Linked DNA regions of Homo sapiens: all the other regions are linked to region 1. The links are contacts of gene promoters, found by promoter capture Hi-C in blood cells and fetal thymus (Javierre and others, 2016). All regions are on one chromosome and are shown on one strand. The core of a region is centred on a gene start or on the middle of the fragment in contact, and the rest is flanking DNA. Distances in the headings are between cores, read along the strand shown.

The links. Contacts are between HindIII fragments. The CHiCAGO score rates a contact against its expected background, and 5 or more counts as called.
Region 2: a fragment that was not itself captured here is called in contact with the fragment with the promoter of LRIF1 in region 1 in 9 of 17 cell types (naive CD8 T cells, naive CD4 T cells, activated CD4 T cells and 6 more); the score reaches 9.9 in naive CD8 T cells.
Region 3: a fragment that was not itself captured here is called in contact with the fragment with the promoter of LRIF1 in region 1 in 1 of 17 cell types (naive CD4 T cells); the score reaches 5.9 in naive CD4 T cells.

Annotation. Positions count from the first base shown.
Region 1 is chr1:110,962,327-110,965,967 of GRCh38, reverse strand. It overlaps LRIF1 (ligand dependent nuclear receptor interacting factor 1), which reads left to right and starts at 2,046. Exons shown (of 4, transcript NM_018372.4): 1 at 2,046-2,347. The coding sequence starts at 2,280. RefSeq lists enhancers at 2,178-2,387, 1,922-2,458. The HindIII fragment of the contact is 2,635 bases long and covers 1,472-3,641 here.
Region 2 is chr1:110,616,476-110,620,116 of GRCh38, reverse strand. It overlaps a transcript of KCNA2 not described here. Among named protein-coding and RNA genes, the nearest start is that of KCNA2, 12 kb to the right of the region's middle. The HindIII fragment of the contact is 2,799 bases long and covers 268-3,066 here.
Region 3 is chr1:110,668,178-110,671,818 of GRCh38, reverse strand. It overlaps a transcript of KCNA3 not described here. Among named protein-coding and RNA genes, the nearest start is that of KCNA3, 4.9 kb to the left of the region's middle. The HindIII fragment of the contact is 4,893 bases long and covers 1-3,641 here.

The DNA of each region.
Region 1 (3,641 bases), core at 797-3,296:
TTATCATAAGAGCAATGGGGAAACTGATTTTTTTTTTTAATGCAGTGAGATGACACCATCAGATTTGTGTTTCCATATGGTATCTCTGGCTGCAGCATTTACAGGAATACAAGAGTGGATATGAGGCTCACGCCTGTAATCCCATCACTTTGGGAGGCTGAGGCGGGGAGATCAGGAGGTCAGGAGATCGAGTCCATCCTGGCTAACACAGTGAAACCCCATCTCTAATTAAAATACAAAAAATTAGCTGGGTGTGGTGGCGGGCGCCTGTAGTCCCAGCTACTCAGGAGGCTGAGGCAGGAGAATGGCGTGAACCCAGGAGGCGGAGCTTGCAGTGAGCTGAGATTGCCCACTGCACTCCAGCCTGGGTGACAGAGTGAGACTCCCTCTAAAAAAATAAATAAATAAAAAAGGAGTGGATATGAGGGTATCCGTTAAAGCTTTACTAGACCAAGTAAGCTTGCTCTACAGTAGTAGTAATAGAAATATAAAGCAGACTTGTAAGATATTTAGAAGATAAAATCTGCAAAAGTTGGTGAATTGTATATTTTGGAATAAAAAAAGGAAAGTGTTAAGGATGACACTGGGATTTAGGCAACTTTAATGGAAGGAAGTTATTTCTTTCTTTCTTTCTGAGATAGCACTGATAAAAGAAAACGTGTAGTGGGGGGAAGAGAAGCAAGTCATAAGTGTGGTTTTGAACATGTTTCATTTGAAGGGGCTTTTAAAATAGCAAAAAGGATATCTCAACAATTCACTTGAACATCCAGGTATAGATCTCAGAGAAATCAGAACTGGGAACATAAATTTATGAGTCACACGGCAGCATAATGCAGTAGTACATGGTGTGTTTAGCCAGACAACCTGGATTTGGAGCCTGGCTCCATCACTCACAAGCTCTATGACCTCTAAAAATTTGTTCACCCTCTCTGAGCATCAGTTACTTCATCTGCATATAATAATTATTTTATTAGCTGTTAGGAGTAAATTAATTTTGTAAAACACTTAAATCAGTGCCAAGGACATACATGTGTTTGGTGGTAAAATAATGGGTGGAGGTGGTAATTCAATCCAGGAGCATGAATAAAACCACGAATCGAGACAAGACAGTTTGAAAACATAAGAGAATCAGTGATCAAGCTGAAAGGAACTCCCTTGAAAAGGGAGATATCTTCAAAAGAGATTGAGAAGGTGTAGACAAAAAGGTAGGAGCAAAACCAGGAAAGTATATTGCCAATGGCGTCAAGATGAGGGACTAATTAATAGTGCTGCGAGGAAAAATTCTCAAATAGTGTGAGATAAAGAGCATCAACTGCAATGGACAGCTGAATAAATGATTTAATGAATACAATGGATGTTCTGATGCAACTCCCAGATCTCCCTTCAGAAATAAAGGTCTATATGACAATAAGTGATAGTTTCGATGAACGTAGGCTGGAGGAAAGAGTTAAGTAAGTCTAGAGGCAAAGCTTCAGGAAAGAGGAGTAAATGGGAAACCTTCAGAGAAGCAGCAACAATAATCGCTGGCCACAGGCAGGCGTTTTAAGTTTTCTCAGGCCAGAAGTGCATGACTCCAAAAAAGCGCGCCGATGTCTTTTAATGCACTGACGGGAGAGAAAAACGTACGCTAGCGGCGAGCACAGAAGCAGAAAATTTATGATTGACCCCGGAAACATTTTATTTTGCGTAGGTGTCGGGAGAGCTTTCTTTTGCGATTTGTTCCTTGATCCGGAAGAAAAGATAGCAAATATCACTTGCCATTGGATTGCATCATAAGGGTTGGGCTTTAGCGAGCCAGTCACCTTGGCAACCGGACGTGACGACCCCGGAAGACGCCCGACCGAGCTTTGCTCCAGCTATCGGCTTCAGTGGGCGGGGCGGCAGAGCCAGACTGACGCAGTCTTCAGCACTGACCAGGCTCTGTTGGGGGTGGTGCCACCAAGGCCACGCCCCCTGCGCCTGCTCCGGCGGAGTCTGGAGAGTTGTCGTAGGCTCTGAGGGCGGAGACTCACGCCGATTCTCTCTCAGCGTAGGGCTGTGAGGGCGCAGTCCACCGCCAGGAGCCTTCCGGTTTCTGCGCGGTGCGCGACCTCGTCCCGAAGCCTGGGGATACACCCTCTCGAGAGCCCGCTGTCGCCCTCCGTTAAGGTCGAACCCCTCACAGTTGCTGTGGGCAACTCCAGCCCAACATTCCCTCGCTCTGGTTCTCGCCCCATTGGGAAACTCGGCCCCACGCTTCCCACTTTTCTGGATGAGGTGTCCCCTTTCTCCCCACTAAAATGTCAAATAACCTACGGAGGGTCTTCCTGAAACCCGCAGAGGAAAATTCAGGCAACGCCTCGCGTTGGTAAGTACCGGTTTCGAATCCTCCCCACGGCTGCCCCTCTGTCCGTCTTAGGGATGTGGAGTCGGCCGTCGTTTCCGGACGCTGTGTAGTTGAGAGGAGTTGGAGCCCGCAGAGTGCGCCACCCAGGCGGGAAGCGCTTGTCTCCGCGGCGCTTAAAGCCCATAGAGCGCTTTCCTCTGGGAAATGTAAAACCTCTTTAGAGCCTGACACAGCGGCTCCGCGGGACCCCAGCGTCTCAAGTTTAATAGGCGGACCGAGTAGATCTCCACGGGAGATGAAAACCAAGATGGCCGACGCTCTTATGTGACTCAAACCTTCTGGAAGATTCTCACGCACACGCAGAAACGCAGCAGTCAGCACGGATTAGCAAGTGCAGCCCTGGTGGCGCTGGACCTTCAGTGAAAATAGATTTTAATAGTGAGACAGAAAGGGTGTGTGATTGAAGAAAAAGGGCTTTAGAATGAGGAGATCGAATATTTAAAATTTCAAGTAATAGTTTTATGTGAAGAGAGAGAAGTAAGACTGGAGAAATCCTCGTGTAAAGTCAGTCCTTTTGAACAGCCTTTTTGAAGTAGGGTGTAATGAAGTGCCATTTCATTGGCTATTTATATTTGGCATGAGGAGAGTCCAGTATTTCTAAGGAAGATATTCTTGTAAAGTTAGAAAATAGATGATCAGTAACTTAGTTTTTGGGTTTTTTTTTTTAAATTGTATTACAAGGAAATGAATTGGAAACAATGTTAGCTAAAGCAGAATATTTTCACTTGTACTCTCACATGGTTAGTAGATTAAGTGATGAGGAAAAAATAGGGTCTGCAGACTCTAATAAGAAAATGAAGAACTAAGATGCAAAACTCATGGAAGAGGATTTTCGTTTGAAGAAAATCAAGCTACCTGGGGTTAATCTCAACTTTGCTAGTTAGCATTTGTGAGGCCAGGTACCTGTTTCCAGTCTGTAAATAATAGCACTTAGAAATATTTTAAAGATTAGGAGAATGAAATAATGTAAAATACGTCGTGTAGGAAAATAGTAAAGCACAATTTAAATGTTAACTATTACTATTATAAGCATACAACTTTAATTCTGTACAGATTTTAGCCCAGCAGGTAGTTTTCTTTAATTGCAAGTAGAAAACTCCATTGCAATAAAGACCGTAAGTAATGGTGAGTCCTTAAAAGCAATATTATAAAAGGAAATGGTCACTAATAGTAATGAGCCAAAATTCTGTTGAACTGTCAAGATAGAACCATTGTATTTCAAATCATAAAAAGAGCCATTTTTTGGTGTACTTGT
Region 2 (3,641 bases), core at 418-2,917, 350 kb after region 1:
CCAAATTTCTCTCTCTCTCTCTCACTCACTCTCTCTCTCTCTCTCTCTCTCTCTCTCTCTCTCGCTCTCGCTCTCTCTCTCTCATTAAGCTGCTCTCAGGAAGCTCACACAATCGCAGTTCACAGCAGCATTTGCTACAGGGCACGTGAACAGGGAGAGGTGGTCTCCTAGGACGTTAAGTCGGCTTGGAGAGACTGGGAGCTGTCCAGGGGAGGGCTGAGGAGTTTGTCAGGCAGAGAGTGTATGTTACTTAACCACACTAAAGCTTCTGTTTCTGGGTTTTGTATTTTTAGAATGCGGAAGGGGAGGTGTTGTCAGAGAGGTGACCTCAGGTGACTGAAAGTGCTGGGGTTTAAGGGCTTAACAAATAGGTGGCGAAAAATATCAAACCCTCAAAATCTCCCCTGACCTTTTATCTCTTAGGACCCGGGATACGGGATGCGCAGGGAGCCAGGCGCGGCTGGTTAAGAAGCCCTGCCTGTGGCTGTCCACTCCCGGTCTCTCCCTGCTGCGTGGGCGTTGACGGCCGCAGCCCTCCCAGATTGCCGCATTGCCGCCCGAGCCACAGTGTGCAGATACCGCTGCATGTGGCGCCCCCTGGCGGCCAGTGGCAGCTCGTGCGTCTGTCTTTTCTGCAGAGCTGATTTCCACCTTGTATGTGTAGGAGGGGCCTCCTTTACAAAGAACCAGCCATACCCTTGGGAGTGGGAGCAGATTTCATAGCCGAGACAGGAGACCTTGTAAGAACTTCCTATGTGCCAGGCACAAGGTTAAAACCGGTATTATCATACATGCATTCATTCGTTTTCCTAGTGTGTGCCAGGCATCTCCTAGGAAGTAATGTGTAAGCAGAGGCCCCATAAAGGAATTACATAAAGTAATGTGTAAGCAGAGCAAGTCATGAGCATGTTTGGGGGTACAGTCTCCCAGGGAGTGGGGACAGCCAGGCCACAGGGATGCATTCTTTGGGTGTGGAGACCAGGAAGGAGGCAGCTGCAGAGGGTGGTTGGAAATGAAGTCAGAAAGGTGTCCAGGGGACAGACGGTACAGAGCCTTCTGGGCCATAGGACTTCAGGCTTAGTTCTGAGAGTAGTGAACAACTACTGGACTTTGAACAAAGGCATAAAACAACTCGATTTATGTTGTTTATAAAATCACTCTGGCTTCTGCGAGGGCATGAATAGGAACAGGGAGGCCTGTGAGGAGCCCAGGTGAGAGTAGAGCATCTGGGGCCAGGTTTGCTTCGCCTGCCGGAAGAGATAAGACATCTGGTTCAGAAGATGGTCTGAAGGCAGAGGCCATAGGAATCCCTGTTGGATTAGCCAAAGGCTGTGTCCCGGGGTTTGGGCCTGAGCAACTGGATGAGGGAGGAGTGGTGCTACTCAGAGGGATGGGGGTTCAGGTGTGGGGGCATGGGAAGGAAGCAAGAATTTGGTTTGGGATGTGCCATGTTTGAGCTGCCAATTAGACTCTAAGTCATGATGTTCGGTGCACCTGAGCAGGGCTCTCTACCCTCTCCATCCTCTCCTTATGTTCCTTTCGTGGCTCTCCTGGGTCTTTTTCCCATCTGAGGGCCACCCAAGCTGCCTCATCCTACCTCCGAAAGGAAAGGAAGCCCACACAGAGCAGCAATTCCACAGGGAAAGAACTGAGGGAAGGCAGCCACATTCCAGGGCCACACCCTAACTGGACGGCAAGGTCAGAGGCAGTCAGGGTTCTAGGCTCCACTCTCCAGAGAGGAATTAAAAGAGGATAAAATGCCTTTTCTCACACACTGACAGGTCACTCACATGTCAGCCAGGAGTGCAGTGGCACGATCATACCTCACTGTAACCTCGAACTCTTGGACTCAAGTGATCCTCCCACCTCAGGCTCCCAAGTAGCTAAGACTACAGGTGGGTGCCATCATGCCCAGATAATTTTTTTAAATTATTTTTTGTAGAGACAGGGTCTCACTATGTTGCACAAGCTGGTTTCAAACTCCTGGCCTCAAGCAATCCTCCTGCTTTGGCCTCCCAAAATGCTGGGATTACAGGCATGAGCCGCCGCACCCAGGCCCTCTCTGCTCTTCTCACTCCATCTACATTCTCATCCTGGGGGATCTCATTCTCACCCTTGGCTTCAATGACCCCTCCATGATGATGACTTTCAACTCTCCATTCCCTACCCTCTACCTCTCTCCTGAGCATCAGGCCAGCATTGCCATCTGCCCTGTTGACAAGGAACAGGCCCATCAGAGCAGCCCCACAAACCCCCATGTATGTCAGAACTGCCCACCATGTGAGCTCCATCCCTCGACACATGCATGAGTGCACACACACAGGTGCACATGCACTTCGCACACCACCTCTCTGAAGCCCTGTGGCGGCCCCTCCACACTCTCTCTCCCTCTCCCATCTCGCTGATCACTGAATCCTACACTCCCTGTAATGTCTCCCTTTTGGTGCTTTTCTCTTCATCACTGCCTTCATCCCTTCTACCGTTCACCTATTGAACAAATGGCCTGAGTCCAGACCCTTGACATCTCTGAGGGGAAGCAACCTCCTCCTTACCAGTTTCCTGCCTCTGCTCTTAGACCCATCCTTTCCACTATACTCCACATTTCCCAAGTTATCTTTCTGAAACATAGATTGGATCCTGTCTCTCCCACTCAGAACTCTCAATGGCTCCCTATCACCTACAGGACAACCTGAACTCCTCAGCATGACTTCAAGGCCTTTCTCAGTCTTCCCCCATCGACCTCTCATTTTACCATGTCCTCCCACACTGCTCGCTCCTGGCACTCCATCTGGCGCAGAGTCCCTGGCACAGGTGAGGCTGCTTCTCTGGTCTGTCCCTGTTGTGCCTTTTTCCTGGAATCCACTCACCCATTTGGGTATTTAGCTCACAAATATGTATTAAGCTCCCAGTGTGCTCCAGGCACTGGGGGTACAGGAGAGAACAAAATCCTCAAAATCCCTCCTCACACAGTGTGAGATAGGCTGTTGCAGAGAGCCCTTCTCCAGGGAGTGAATGAATGAAGCAGGCAGTGAGGCATGCAGATTGCCCATGAAGAATGCCCAAGCTTCACTTCAACACCTCTTTCGGGGTCTTTGGACATTCTGCTCCTCCGTAAAGACATCTCTCAATTTCCATCCTTGGTGAAGGCTTTCCTCTTCTTAGGTGCTTTTGTACTTTATTCTTCAATTTAAGCCAATTCATTCTGCCTTGGGTTAGAGTCAATTGTTGACAATTCTGCTTCCTTATCCATCCTTCTAGGGAAGGAACTAGTATTTATCAAGCACCTCCTCTGTGCCACGCTCTGTGTGTCCCCCACAGTGCTTGGCTCGATGCCTGGTTTAGAGCCGGGGCTAGAGGACAGACCATGACTCAGCTCCTGCCTTTTGCACCCAGCTGCTGGCTATGTGGCTACAGGCAAGCCACTCAGCCTCACCAAGCTTGTTTCTGTAACTGTTGAATGGGAGTGAACATAGCACCTGCCTCTGTTAGGAATTATCCTTCTCACATAGCCTGGAGAGTTTCAGTTAGACCCTGGCTCGGTTGTTCCCAGGCTCTGTTGTTTTTTCCTTAGGAACCATGCTGGCTTATTTATGATCTAACTCTGGGGTCCCATGTTTCTTAAAGAAAGAACTTTTTCTTAT
Region 3 (3,641 bases), core at 741-3,240, 290 kb after region 1:
TTCTCCAAGAACTTTCAAGCCAACAAATGAAATTTAAAAGCAAATGTAAAAGTGTTCTGTACATAAGCAAATGAGAGATTCGATCAGTGTGCCTGAAACCTTACTACAAGGGACCTTCAGGCTTTCTCTTTAAAAAAAAAAATACAGATCCCACAACAGCTCTGTCATCATCACAGCACTTGACAAGCTAAATAAACTTCAAATAAATAAAGGATGCACGTTTAAAACTGAGTGAATTGCAGACAATCAATTAAAAGGAGGGACAGGAAGTAACCAGATCTTGGGAGAACACCTGCAAGTTTCAGCCATATGCCAAGGGTTGCCAGAAGACAGACAGAATCAGGTGAGCACTCTGTGATCTACTGGGAGCAGTCCCTTTTGTTATCCAGAGCCAGGGAACTGTCATTCATGTATAGACTGATGGTATTTGCCAAACCAACAGTTTTATCTTAGTTACATGCTTGGTGTCTTTTTAAAAATAATTTACACCTTTCTCATTTGATTTCCATGTTGCTAACTGTCGTTTAGTTTCCATTGTTTATTACAAAAGGATGAAAAAACAGTCATTGCTCTTCAGAATAACCTTCACTCAAGCCAAACTGAAAATTATTCCGTTCCTTTTACTAACCCACTTGGCCTCCAAGCAACCTGTTTCCCTTTAAAAAGGATAAATGGCAGAATCTACTGCTGTTAGATTATTGGTCCAATTTTAATTTACATAATTATTTAATAGTATGCAGTGGTACAGTTCTTTGAAACAAAAAAGGGTTAAAAATAAGAGTAACATTTTATTTAAACATAATCATTCTGTTTCATATACATTATATAAATTATACATTATCTACAGTTGTTTTTTGGTTTTAATAGCATATAACTATTCTATCCTTCCAGAGTAAATGAGAGTAACCCTATTTTTAAAGCCCATGAAGTATTTTCAGTTAGGAGTACATTTATAATGCATGCATTGAAGAGAGAGGAAAATAGTGATTGAGACTATAAGAGAGAGCTGAGGAAGGAAAAGACCAAACAAATAGAGGCAAGAAATCTAAATATACCTGGTCATAGATTTGTTGTTTGTTTTTTATCATATATTTGTTTTTATCTATGTATATCTAAGTAGGACTTCATTATCTAGTTTTCTTTGCTTTTTGTTTGAGTTAACCTTTGACATTGATCTACCTCTTGACCAAACGTTTGGTACCCTTAATGACCAGAAATTATTTTTATGACACATTTTGATAATATGTTAGATACATTGTAACAATTACATTAAAATAATTTTTGTATCTGTTCTTAACATAGAGATGGAGGAAGTGCAATGACAATTTTATTCACATTTATTCAGGAGATGTAGAAACCTTGATTAGTTCTATAAGTAAATTATGGTTGTGCCATAATTCTTATGGTTATTAAATGGCAGTAATTTAAAGGGGGCCTTTGTTCTTTAATCCAGAGAAATATCCTGGCTTTTGACTCATAACTTTGAGGTAATATGATTGCTTGTAGTCACCACATTGTAAGTTCCCTAAAGGATATAAGCTCTGTGTCTTGAAGGTTTTAGGTACTAGTGCCTAGCACAGAATGTGGCACCTTTTATATTTGTTGAGTGAATGGCTGTTATCTTACATAAATGTTATTTCCAGGCTTTTAATAAAGTGGTTAAAAGCATAAGCTCTGCAGTCATATTTCCAGGATTTGAGTCCTGACTCTGGTATATGATCTTGAACAAATTACTTAACCTCTCTGTGCCTCAGTTTCTTTGTTTGTAAAATGAGGGTGATAAACAGTACCTCACAGGTTTATTGTGAATAGTAAATGTTAATACAGGTAGAACACTTAGAAAAAATAATTCCATGACACGGCATCAGAGATTTTGCTAAGAGATTATATTGTGATCATCACTCACAAGCACTGTATAATTAATACAATGTTTTGTGAATATGAAATACACAAGTAATCAGTGTCTTCCTATTTCCTTTCTATTATAAGAATAATAATTACCATTTATTAAGAGTCAACCATGTCCTGGACACTTGTCAACTCCGCAAGGTAAGTGCTATTAACCTCATTTTAGGAGGGCATAAAATAGATGCTTAAAGTTAAGTGATTTCCCTAAGACTTCACAGCTAGCAGGAGACTCAGTTATGATTTAAAGCCAGGTTATTCTGGCTCTGAAACCCATGCTACTTTTATTAGGTGACTTGAAAGACAAATCTCTTATGCTTTTAGACTTGGCTTCAGCCTATGTCACTAATTAATGAGTTCATGTAGATAACATATCTCCAGAAACCTATTTCATTTCAGTATACTGAAAATTAACCTGCTTAAAATAAGCAGGTATTTTAACCAAATATAAGCATCAAATATAAGTTATTTAAATAAGATGAAGAGATTGACTTTTCTAATAACAAAAGATTATTTTCTTATAGTTGGTTTATCTAGATTTAATCTTAGAAAGTATAACCAGTCATAGTAGTGTTTAGTGATAACTGCTATGACAATGGATATTTTTCAGTTTCAAGATTTTTCTGTTTTCATGTGTTTTAATCAACAATAGATGATAGCATTATGCAAATTAGTTTTCTATCTCCTTATGCTTTGCTTCATTTACTGAAGAACCATACCAGAAAGTCATGTAAATATTTTGACTCTCCCTTATTAAGAGGGAAGAAATTATTCAGAACAGAAGTATTAAAAGCAGAATGAGATTGCCAGTTCACTGAAACTTGTGACATTATTGCCTTACCTAACCACTCCATGGATCTTTAAGGGCATCTGTGCTCTAAAGAAATTAAAATAAAATTTTTCCTACATAATAGCTGCAGACCCTTCTCTCAGTTCTTAAATCATTTATGAAATGAAAATGGATAATGATTTGGGCTTAGAGCAAAATTCTAATGAGCCTACGTTTGCACATGCCAGCTGGCTTTGCCAAACTACAACCTTCACTGTTGAGCTCAGTTGCACGTCTTATGTGTTGAAGAAATATACGGATGTCTGTGTATAGCAAGAGATTCATGTGAGGAGGTGTGACTGGATCAGTGCACACCCATCAACACCCTGGGGAAAAATGTATATGCCTTACAGCTGATGAATCCAGATAGAAACATGGAAGTTAACATTGTTATTGTTTTATTTCTTTTATGATGTTTTAAAATGACATGATACACCAACTGTGGTGACATAACCACAGACACCTACGCATAGGAGGAAGCATTATGTCAGTTATTTCTAAACTTTGAAATAAAATTTCAGTATTGAAATTTAAATGCACAGTATGAAGACATTTAAAGTTATGGTTTGTTGGCATAAAACTTGTTATTTACCTTTTTGGCGTATAATATACTCAAGTATTTGTTTTGCTATAGTATATAAAGACAATGTATATAATATATACTAGTAGTCTGTTCCTTTGAGTACCATAACTATAACTTATTGACTTCTATACATTTAAAATTTCAACATTTTCTACAGCAGTTCCAAGTCCTTCCCACCTCTCAGCTGTGAATAGAAGTGATAACCCTTCCCACTAAGAAATGCAAAGAAGCACACGTGCCCCATAATCTGAAGACTTATGGAAACACTGTGAGATAGAGGTGAGGAGCATAAGAATGTGGAAGAGGATATTTAGGGCTGCATTT